2 separate regions of the Homo sapiens genome follow, and region 2 is linked to region 1. The links are contacts of gene promoters, found by promoter capture Hi-C in human tissues and cell types (Jung and others, 2019). All regions are on one chromosome and are shown on one strand. The core of a region is centred on a gene start or on the middle of the fragment in contact, and the rest is flanking DNA. Distances in the headings are between cores, read along the strand shown. Region 1 holds the start of UBXN2B (UBX domain protein 2B). Region 2 has its middle 3.4 kb from the start of LINC03018.

Region 1 (5,664 bases), core at 813-3,312:
GTACCATTTGGGAAGAACATTATTTAATTCTTTTAAACTTTTGATACATACTTTATTTCTTGATATGCCATCCCTTTGGCTGTTTTCAAGTTTCTTTGCAAGTTCTTCACATTCATATTAAGTTCTAAAGGAAAGATTATCAATACTTAGATACTGTACTTGATACACCAAATCACATTCATAAAGAAATCAGTTATCTTCCTACTGCCCTAACCTACAACAAGTAGACAGGAGATGAAAAAAAAAATCCCCATCATAACTTAGGGTGGAAATGAAGGCATTCTCACAATTAGCAACATCTACCAGAGTATCTCCAAACATTAATCGTACTTTGATCCACTGGATTAAGACTGCAAACAATTTGCCAAGAATCAGGTGGTCATTAAGCAAGCTGTTCTCACTTTTCACATAAAAAGAAGAAATGGATTTAAATTAGGGAAAGGACATTAAGTTACACACTCTATTAACTTTAATGATATTAGAATTGACTAGCCAGGGAAAGTTATAGCATCTTTCTCCTGAGGAAAAAGGAATCAAATATTTGCCCAGCAACAACTGAGCCAGGATAATGTAGGAATTTTGCATAGGCCCTTTATAACATTATTTAATCCTTACACCACCACCAGCACCCTGACCTTCCTCAGTTTACAAATGAAGACACAGGATCAGACAGGTTAAGACATTTCTCCTAAGTTCACAAAACTACTAAGTAGCAGGACTAAGAGGCAAACCAAAATTGGTGGGACTACTAACTCCATGCTGCCTCTTAGTGATGTGGGTTTATAATAGGAAAGATGAGGTACACAATAGCTTCCTATCCCTTGATACTGTTTACTACTACTGAACCAACTATGGGAGCTGGAACTATTCTACATTAAGTTCACCTCCTAATGTTACACTGATCTCTCCAGCCTCCAAATTCTTCGCTTTATGCACTGCTTATTTTGGCACCCAATCATACTCCATCTTAAAATGTTATGCTAAGTATTCATACCCTATTTCTCCGAAGAAATCTGTAGGCTTCCAAAAGGTAGAACTGTCTTTTACACTTACATACCTACCCATCAATAGAGTTCAGCACCGACTAAGGATTTGATGTCCTTATTTCCACATTCGCAAAGCTCAGCAGTATGTTACAATGGATGGTGGTTTGTTCACATTAGAATGAAGTGTGGTTGTAAAGTAATACAGTAAAACTGTTCTACCAAGATTCTCCTTAGTATCTCCTTACTGATATTTACTTGTCAAATTTTTATCAATAATCTTATAATGAGACACAAAAACGCCTAAAATGAGAAAAGTGGCGTTAGTATCTGATAAAACGGGATTTGGTGCGCTACTATTTAGCTAACTAATACTAGTGTCCTACACAACATTACGAAATTTTATTTCCCAGTTTCTTCAGTGCAATGTTTTAAAGACCACAGCTTAGACAACTAGGCTGTATGGGCATAGAGTGCATCGCTTTCCTTCACCCCTTTAAAAGAAAAACCTACCTGATAAAATGGAACCATTTTTATATTTAAGTAAGCAAGTCAGAAATAGCATCCAAGACAAAAAAGAACAAATCACGTATCATTACTGTTCAGGTGACTGTCTACTTCCCTGCGGCCACAGTAACCTTTCTTCTGGAGTAAGTCTCAAGAAGGAAGCATCAACCCGTGAACCGACCAACTGACCCCGCAAAATGTCATTCTAAACGAATAGCTATTTTTACATCATACGTGGGGTGGAAGGGAGACAAAGCACCAGCGCTGGAGGCTTGGGCACTTGTGTTCACGACCACCACAGTGTCAAGACCCGACATCGGGAGACCGGGCGCCGGATTCTATCCCCAGACGGGGTCGGGGAAAGGCTCCGCCGAGGCCAGAGGTGGCCTCCAACTCGCACCAGCCCGCGCCGTCACCAGCCCGCGTCCACCGCCGCGCTCCCTCCCCCGGCTCCTCGCCTCACCTGCAAATCCCGCGCGCTCGGAGGCCGCGGCCCGGAAGACCTCCTCTCCTGCTCGCCGGGCTCAGGGCCTCCGCCCTCCGCCATCTTCCGCTGGCTAGCGGCGCCCGCTGCGGACGCACCTGCCGCAACTTCCGGGGCCGGTTGCCTGGCAACCGCAGGAGGGGCGAAGACGCGCAAGGTGCGTGCGCGTCCCCGCTACCCGAACCCGCGCCCCCGCTTCCGGTGCTGGCCCACCTTTTTGGTTTCTCCTTTTTTCTTAAAGGGAGTTTCTCCGCAGGGAAACCTCTGTTAAGTTTTGTGTTGCTCCTGCTACTCGCCTAAAGGCACTGTAGGCCGCCCTAGAGGGCAGCATAGACTTGCAGATTCATTTAGCTCAACAATGAAAACATCCTCTGGATTTTTCATCTGATGAAAAATTGCAACCTCTCCATCTAGTCTTGGTCAGATTCTCTGATCTTTCCTATCAAGGATTGGATGGTACATCGTCACCACAGCGTGAATTAGCACTGAGAGTGAAAAACACCGTAAAAAGTGCTTGGAATAATTTGCTAAAAGCAGAACTCTGCCGGGCCTGTGGCTCACGCCTGTAGTCCCAGCACTTTGGGAGGCCGAGGCGGACGAGGTGATCGAGACCATCCTGGCCAACATGGTGAAACCCCTTCTCTACTAAAAAAAAAAATATATATATATATATATATATATATATATATACACACACATATATATATACACATATATACACACACATATATATATACACATATATATACATATATATACACATATATATATATATATATACACAAAAATTAGCTGGGCGTGGCGGAGCGTGCCTGTAGTCCGAGCTACTGGGGAGACTGAGGCAGGAGAATCGCTTGAATCAGGGAGTCGGAGGTTGCAGTGAGCCGAGATCGCGCCACTGCACTCCAGCCTGGCGACACAGGGAGGATCCGTCTCAAAAAAGAAAAAAAGCAGATCTCGAGACTATCAAGCCCTCGTCATTCAACTGAAATTGATTTAGACTCTGGTCTTCTTATCCTAGGCACTTTTTGTTTTTGAGACGGAGCCTCGCTCTGTCGCCCAAGCTGGAGTGCAGTGGCGCGACCTCGGCTCACTGCAGCCTCCACCTCCCGGGTTCAAGCAATTCTCCTGCCTCAGCCTCCCGAGTAGCTTGGACTACAGGTGCGTGCCGCCATGCCCGGCTAACTTTTGTATTTTTAGTAAAGACGGGGTTTCACCATGTTGGCCAGGATGGTCTTGATCTCCTGACCTCATGATCTGCCCACCTCGGCCTCCCAAAGTGCTGGGATTACAGGCGTGAGCCACTGCGCCTGGCCTCCTAGGCACTTTTATGCCCAAGGGATGCAAAGGTAAAAAGAAATAGTCCCAGTCATTATGAAACTCAGTCTAGTAGGGAAAAGAGACATGTAAACGGGTAAGATGCAGCTTGCAGTAGAGCTTTGCTTGGGAGGGTTACAAAGGAAATGTGAGCCATGTGAGGGGAAATACTCCGTTGGTATCTGCTGTGTGCACCATGCTAGGTGCTGGAGTCGACAGCTTGCCGCCCGAGCTTTGGCATACTGATCGTTTTGATGTATAAAGGCATTTGAGGCTGGGCGTCGTGGCTGACGCCTGTAATCCCAACTCTTTGGGAGGCCGAGGCAGACGGATCACTTGAGGTCAGGAGTTTCAGACCAGCCTGGCCAACGTGGTGAAATCCTGTCTCTACTAAAAATACAAAAATTAGCTGGGCGTGGTGGCGCGTGCCTGTAGTCCCAGCTACTTGGGAGGCTGAGACAGGTGAATTGCTTGAACCCGGGAAGCAGAGGTTGCAGTGAGCAGAGATGCACCATTGCACTTCAGCCTGGGTGTCACAGAGAGACTCCGTCTTAAAAACAAAAAACAAAAAACAAAAAAAAGCATTTGATAAACAGCAGGTGCAAGAAGAGCACTCTGACCTTTTCTTCCTGAAAGCAGGAAAAGAAACTACCATGTGATAGATGCCCTCCCTATACCAAGAGGAAAGATACTCATCACCAGAGAAGGGGAGTTGAGGCCGAGAAACATCTGTACAGATATTGTTAAACTAACCAGTATCTTCCTAGATACTCTTCCACGATTGCCTCTCTTTGTTCAACCTAGTATATAAGCACTTAGGCCTAGCCACTTCTTCGGGTGTTTATTTTCCTGTGAGGACACCCACTTATACGTAAAGTTTTATTAAATAAAATTTGTATGCTTTTTCCCTGTTAATCTGTTTTGTGTCCGTTTAATTCTTGGACCCAGCTGGAGACTCTGAGAGAGTAAAGGAGAAAATTTTCTCCCCCAGCTGTGCATTCCCTGTGTAATTTCATTTATCCCTCTACCAGGTAGTTATGATTATCTTGTTATACCCGAGGAAACCAGATGATGAAGACTAACTTCACCCTGTAGTAAATGGCAGTGCCAAATACTAAACTGCACTTGTTTTCCTGATACTCTCTTAACATCAGATTCTGCCCTAGAAATCTCGGGCTCTTTAACAAGAAATGCCTCATAGAGCCAAAGACATTTTAGCTGAGTGTTGAAGGAAAGTACTTCCAGTAGAAGTATTAGACCAGAAAGAATCTTGGTAAAGGCAAAGATATTTACAAAGACACTGATATTTAAAATATTATATTCATGTCAGCAAATTGCTATATGGTTGCAACTTAGAAATGACAAAAGATGGTTATGGAATGGTGGGGAGGAGACAGATGTAGAATGGAGGCTTGAGACAGATTCTGAAGGATCTTGCCTTAGGTTGGGGATGGAATCCTCTGAGCCAGTGATTCTCTAACATTCTTGTACATTAGAATCACCTCTTCTCTCTCGTCTCCAGGTACTCAGATTTATTAATAATTGGTATAGAGTGGGAGTCAGGCATCATATTTCTTAAGATGTTCGCAAAGTGGATTTTGCTGCTGGCCATGACAGTATACCTGATGTTGGACTTGTCCTCCCACTCTTAACAACTAAAAACAACAGTTTTAAGGCATTGAGCAACAGGCAGTACAGGTCTGTGATATCTGAAAGAAGGAAAACGAACAAGGTGACTATATTTGCCCAGGCTCTTTATTTTTATTTATTTATTTTTTGAGATAGGGTTTCTCTCTGTTGTCCAGGCTGGAGTACAGTGGTGCAATCACGCCTCACTGCAGCCTCAATCTGTCTAGTTAGAGCAATCCTCCCACCTCAGCCTCCCGAGTAGCTGTTGCCTTGGCTTTCTGCATGGAACTCTCATACACTGCTAGTGGGTCCTAGAATGGTACAGCCACTTTGGAAAAGAGGTTGTCAGTTTCTTCTAATGTTAAATATTCCATTATCATAAGAACCAGCAATTCTACTCTTAAATATTGACCCAAGAGGGATATAAGTATACATTTATAAAGTATTTCAACTCAAATGTTCATAGAAGCTTTATCTGTAATAGCCTGTAAACTGGAAACAATCCAAATGTCCATCAGCCAATGAATGGATACAATTTTGATAAATCATACAATGGAATACTACTCAATAGTAAAAAGGAAGAAGTTATGGATTCACATGTCTTGAATGAATCTCAAAGATATTATCTTGGGTAAAAAAAGCCAGGTGCGAAAGAGTAAATATTGTCTGATTTAATTTATATGAAATTTTAGAACAGGCAACACCTTTAATGACTAAAAGCTGGTGGTAGCTTGGGGCTGTCTT
Region 2 (5,998 bases), core at 2,041-4,540, 670 kb after region 1:
AGCATTTCCTTTGAGTATCACGTACACACTCAAAATACTATGGATTCTGGAGCAATTAGGATTTCAGATTTTCAAATGAGAGATGTTCAACCTGTAGAATAAAGCTGCACATTTTAAAGTCCATTTATATAGATGATAAACCATTGAGATACAGTATATAATGAAAGTGAAAGTAATCAGGAATGGAAAACCAAACGCCGTATGTTTTCACTCATAAGTGGGAGCTAAGCTATGAGGATGCAAAGGCATATGAATGATACAATGGATTTTGGGGAGTGGGGGAAAGGGTGGGAGGCAGGTGAGGGATAAAAGACTACACATTAGGTACAGTGTACCCTACTTGGGTGATGGGTGCACCAAAATCTCAGTAATCACCACTAAAGAACTTACTCACACAATCAAATACCACCTCTTCCCCAAAAGCCTGTGGAAATAGTTTTTTTAAAAAAGAAAACACCAGTATACGTTGCACATAGGAAACATAAACGTTATTTCCAAAGCTGTTAAAAAAAAGAAGGTGAAATAATAAGCCTAAATTTAGCAGATGCTGGAATATTATAGTAATACATGAATCAATTATGGATGATAAATATATGTGCATTTATAACCTAAACATCTATAATTGATCATATATGGTTTATTTTATATTAGATTCTTAGTGAACAACGCAACATCTAATACCAAATATTAACATTGTTCTTACAAGAAAATTTTAAAAAATTATTTTTCTGCCATGTTTCCTAATGCTACCAATATATAATGGTGAAAATTTCTTATTTTATTCTATCTGGGCTTTTTTTTTTTTTATTTTTAGGAACTGTTTTGCAATGGAGTTCCTGCCAGTGACTTTAAACCTTGTTTGGATGACTATTTAGCATGGAGATTTCTACTTGTTTGCAAATAATCTGCTTGAAATATCAAAGAGGAGACCACAGCAATTATGAAACAAACAGAATCTTACGGACTTCTTTTTATTTTTTTTCCCCAGATATTTGGATAGGTCAGATGAAATCTCACATATTGAAATCACTTATTTATAAGCACTAGCTACACAAAATGAAATCAAAGCACAGTGAATAAGGAATTCAAGGAACTACTGTCCTGGGGTAGTAATATCTTGAGATTCTGAAATTTATTATTTCTGTCACTAAGCTAGAGAATGGTAATTGAGCTAGACTAATATAACATTGCTGTTGAAAGTCTCTGACTATTCTCTCAAAGGATATGGTCTTTGTGACTAGTCACAGGTTTCACTTAAACTCATTGCTTTTGACAATAACAAGTCTCTCTTTTTTGGACTTGTCCACATTGTGCCAAGTGGAGCTGAGATTAGAGAGTTTATCAGTTGTAGTAGATATCCATAATGGACCAACAACAACAAACACAATTATGTGAACTGGAATTTAATTCCCAGCCATAGCAGCCAGGAAGAATTTACCAAATCTATCAGTCGTCAAATTCCATGACGTGCCTGAAAATATGTGGTAATTAAAAATGTAATCACTGAGGCTAGAAAGAAGATACTATGTTCTCATTTAAGGTCTTAATTGACTCATGCAGAAGATGCCTGTTAGTTTATTCTGCATGATTTGGTAATTTCAATTCTACATGGAACTGCAGAGTCTTACGTACTAGTATTGATGTGAGAGTTTGAAAGGGCAGAATGATCCATACATTTGCTGTTGACCTGCCACTTGGAGAATTTACTGTCTCAGAACTTCTGAATTGAATTAGAATTCTTCTCTGTGGTGTACACTCAATAAAGAAGGCATCCAGTTAAAATTAATCTGGTAGATTCAGACTCAACACACAGATAAGATGGAATAATCACTATATTAAAAGTCACTTAGCTTTCATTCATTTAACTTATTTATTTACTGTCTCACCATATTCTTTCTTTCAGTTTTATACTTAATGTCAAGAACATTCTATGGAGAGAAAGTGAACTAATATTTATTTAAAACATTTTAAAAGCCACTTAAGGAAATCTATTACTACTTGCTTGCTACTGTATAAGGCAGTTCACCTTTATGTTCCTATTTACTGCTCTCAGCAAACCCAGGAGATAAATACTATTATTAATGCCATTTCACAGACGGTGAAATTGAGTCTTAAGGTGATTAAGTCACTTGTCCACTATCCTGCAGCTAATAAATGGCATATAAGGGATGTGAGCCCAGGTTTGCCAGGCTGTAAAGGTCTAGTTTTTAACTACTCTGCAACAGTAGCAGGAGTACCAGTAGGAACCATAGTAGGAGCAAATAGCTAACATTTACCGAGTACTCATTGTATGCCAGCCCCAACCTTTTTCCCAGACAGCTAGCTCAGAGCCATCCTAAACCAAACCACGCAGAGTTCTGTGCCAGCCTGAAATAGCAGTGCCCAATGGCCAACAGCGTCTCCCAGCACCTAACAGGTTCTGAGGCATGTACATCCCTCTGTGGAAAGTCTCTCCAGCACTCCAGAGGAGAGACTTCCAGCAATTACCAACTGTGAGACACCTGAGTGATTTCTGAGCCATCAGTGAGTCACGGCCATGCATTCTCCACCATCTGGAGTTCAGCTACGATGGCCATGAGGAGATCTTCCCTGGGTGTTTCATGTCAGCCCTGGAAATCATGCCTGCTCCTTCCATCTGTGGCTCCTAGGTTCCTTAGTATTCTCTTTAATTCTCAACAGGCAACTCCTCATAAGCAAATCTTCTGTTAATAATTCCTTATATTACACTTTGTGGTTGTAAACATTGCATGTGTTCTGTCTCCCAACTGGGCCCTAACTCATATATTATTTTCATAAAAGCTCCATAAACAAAAACAATCATTAGCTCCTTTTTACAGGTGAAGCAACAGAAGTACAGAGCAGTGAACATGGTTTTCTCAAGTCTGCTAGCTCTGAGAGTTGATAGGTCTGGCTCTCCTTTATCCCCCTTGTCTTACAAAGGTTGGAGGCCCCCTGAGTCCCATTCTCAGTCAATTCTCAGTCTAGTCAACTTCCTAGTTCTTTAGGCTCCAACTAGCACTGAATTTATTTTCAGTTAAGACCTGAATTGTTTCTCCTATCTCCCAAAAGATTATATTTTGAAGCCATTCTCTCAATGTGACTGTATTTGGAGATAGTGAAGAAATTAATGTTAAATAAGATACTGAAAGAGTAATCGATCATGTTAAAAGTGATTGATGAGGGTCTTAACATGATAGGACTAGTGTCCTTACAAGAAGAGGAAGAGTCTTTTTCCACAAAAAAAGTCATGTGAGGACAAGTGAGCAGGTGATTGTTTGCAAGCCAAGGAGGTGGGTCTCACCAGGAACTGATGATGCTAACACCTTGATCTTGGACTTCCAGCCTCCAGAAATTTAAGAAAATAAATTTATGTTGTTTAAGCCATTTAGTCTGTGGTGTTTGGTTATGGCAGCCCAAGCCGACTAAGTCACAGCCCAAAGCTGGTAAATCCAAAATCCACACCTTTAGTGTTAGTTGTCTACCACACATCTCCATGTAGTTTTCAAACTTTAATCTTGCCTCCCCGAATTGTCCTCCTCATCAATTCTCCATCATCATTAAAGGCCTCACTAGCTGTGGAGTCACTTGAGCCAATGACCTTGGGATCTCCAACTTCTTTAGTGCCTCACAGCCTTCATAGTTATGACAATTCTAACTATTAGATAGTCTAGTTCATTTCCTCCTTTGTTTTCTATACAACTTGCTTATTTCATGATTTAATTATATTTCATTTGTTCTTTTGCAGAAGCAAAGTGATCTTGTTGTCTTAGTGCTCCTTTTCTCCATCCCTTTTTACTTCACGCCATAAATCCTGATCTGATTATGCTGCTCTACAAACCTTTGACAACCCCTTACTCACAGCAGCTTTTCCAAAGTCTGTCTCACAGAAGATACACCCGAGAGACAGTCTTATAAAAACAATTTTGTGGTTTGACTCACAACAGCCATTAATATAGTAAAGGCTCATAAAAGACCTGCAGAATGTCTTCGATTTAACTTTATTTAGTCCAGCATTTTTCAAATTCAGGAACTATCCATTCTCTCTGTCCCATTTTTCCCTCTTTGCACATGTTTGGCAGGATGTGCTGACATATTAGATAAAATAAAATCTCTTAATCTTGGTGTGGCAGAGTCTGGTTGTCACCCTGTAGTGAATACCGCTGTTGTCCTGCACATACCTCCTTAGATCTTACTGTTTCTATGGGACTGAGCTCAGCCTCCATCCTTTGGGGGCAGCCTGAGCCTCAGGCTGAAGGATGACAGAGAAGCAGGAAAGCCCAGCTGTCTTATCTCAGGTCAGGATTACCCTGAGAGCTCATTTTCCTTCCAGAGCTTCCCCCATGGTTCATGCTGACACTGCAATCCTGGGATCGTTGCCTGCAGTTATACAAGGCTAGCTTCTTTCTCTTTCCTGTCTTGTTGAGATAATTAATAAATCATGTGCATACAAATCTTTGTCTTGGGCAAGCATCTGAGAAAGCCAGCCTGAGACAGTACACCAATATTCTTTCAAAGCCTATGTTATTGCATAGCAGTAATGTAGTTCAGAGAGAGCAGTAACTCCATTCTTCCTACCACAGTGATTGGCTTAGGAGAAAGGAAGTTTATGCCAATTAATGCATAGAGCTACCCTAAAATAATCCAGAATTGGGATTAATTCTGGATTGGACATGAGGTCTACTCAGACCATTGACACATGAGGAGGGGATTTGCTGTATAAGTATATAAAGTTACATAAAAATTGGACCCAAAGGCATTTATTGTGAAATAATCATTCTTCTAGCTCTGATTCATCTCAGATGGAATGTTAGCTAATGGCGAATTGAGACTATTTGCAGTGACAGAGTTCTGTAGGAAGGCTTATTTGAGTAAAAATAAATAGCAAACAGCAATGTGAATCAGACCATGTTTGAAAAAGAAACAATGTGAAGGTAGTTTTAGTTTATTAGGAATTATATATTTTCATTTAGAAAAATCCTAAATGAGCATTTTTATAGCCACAGAAGCAGAGGAATCTGTTTCACCAAGCTTCATGATAGCCTGGTATCAACTTTGCTGAAATATTTCAAACCCTCCTACATCAATGTCTCTCAAAGTGTGAACCCTAAACCAACAGCGTCAGTGCCACCTGGGAACCTATTAAGAGTTCGAACTGTTGAGTTGCATCAGTAAACCCAATGAAGTAAAATCTTTGTGGCTGGAGTGGGGGTGCCTGGCAATGTGGGTTCTAACAAGCTATTTGTTGATTTCACTACATGCCAAAGTTTGAAAATCTCTGTCCTACATGAGGGCTCACACTTTACCTTTCCTGTCTTTTCCTTTATTCCATTAACACCATTCTCATTATGTCTCCTATCTATACTGTCTTTCATGTAAAATGAAAGACATATACATAAACCATCACTCTGATTCAAAATACAGTATATTATGAAAGGAATCAATTCAATTTCATACGTATCATAGATTTTTACCTCAGAAATAACTTGTTTCTCATTGCTACCATAGCAAATAATATCTCAGCAGCTAGAGTTTTCTTAATATTTCACAAGTTTGTATTTATGTTTCACGTGCTGCTTTCTCAAAGGGAGATGTTTTACATATATATCTACATATATAATGACTATGGTGATGAATCAACATGTAGATTCTTTTGAACAAAGCACTGCATACTTTTTATTTTATATAAATAAATTTTGTGCTTTTTTAAACCTCTAGTTGGTTAAAAATGACCCCATAATCTGGTCTAAATATTAAAAGCTTTCAAATTGATTCATACTTCCCATCTATCCCCAACAATACTTAATAATGCTTTAGGGAAGTTCAACTATTTCTACTTTTATGTTTTGAAACTGGGTTTTATTCTGCTTTGCTAAACTTTTAAAAGATAATTATCTCTAAGTATTCAAGTTAAGTAGATGAATCTCTGTCTAACTTATGAGCAGACTCCTAAAATTCTCAGAAAACTGGGTGAGTATAATGAATTATTTTTATAGAGCTA

The links. Contacts are between HindIII fragments. The study calls those that stand out against the background at their distance.
Region 2: a contact is called between a fragment that was not itself captured here and the fragment with the promoter of UBXN2B in region 1, in 1 of the 25 tissues and cell types used here (dorsolateral prefrontal cortex).

The regions. Positions count from the first base shown.
Region 1 is chr8:58,407,759-58,413,422 of GRCh38, reverse strand. UBXN2B (UBX domain protein 2B) reads right to left here and starts at 2,062. Exons shown (of 8, transcript NM_001077619.2): 1 at 1,954-2,062. The coding sequence starts at 2,037. RefSeq lists enhancers at 1,617-1,666, 1,947-1,996, 2,007-2,066. The HindIII fragment of the contact is 13,427 bases long and covers 1-5,664 here.
Region 2 is chr8:57,739,775-57,745,772 of GRCh38, reverse strand. No RefSeq gene overlaps it. Among named protein-coding and RNA genes, the nearest start is that of LINC03018, 3.4 kb to the left of the region's middle. The HindIII fragment of the contact is 8,204 bases long and covers 1-5,998 here.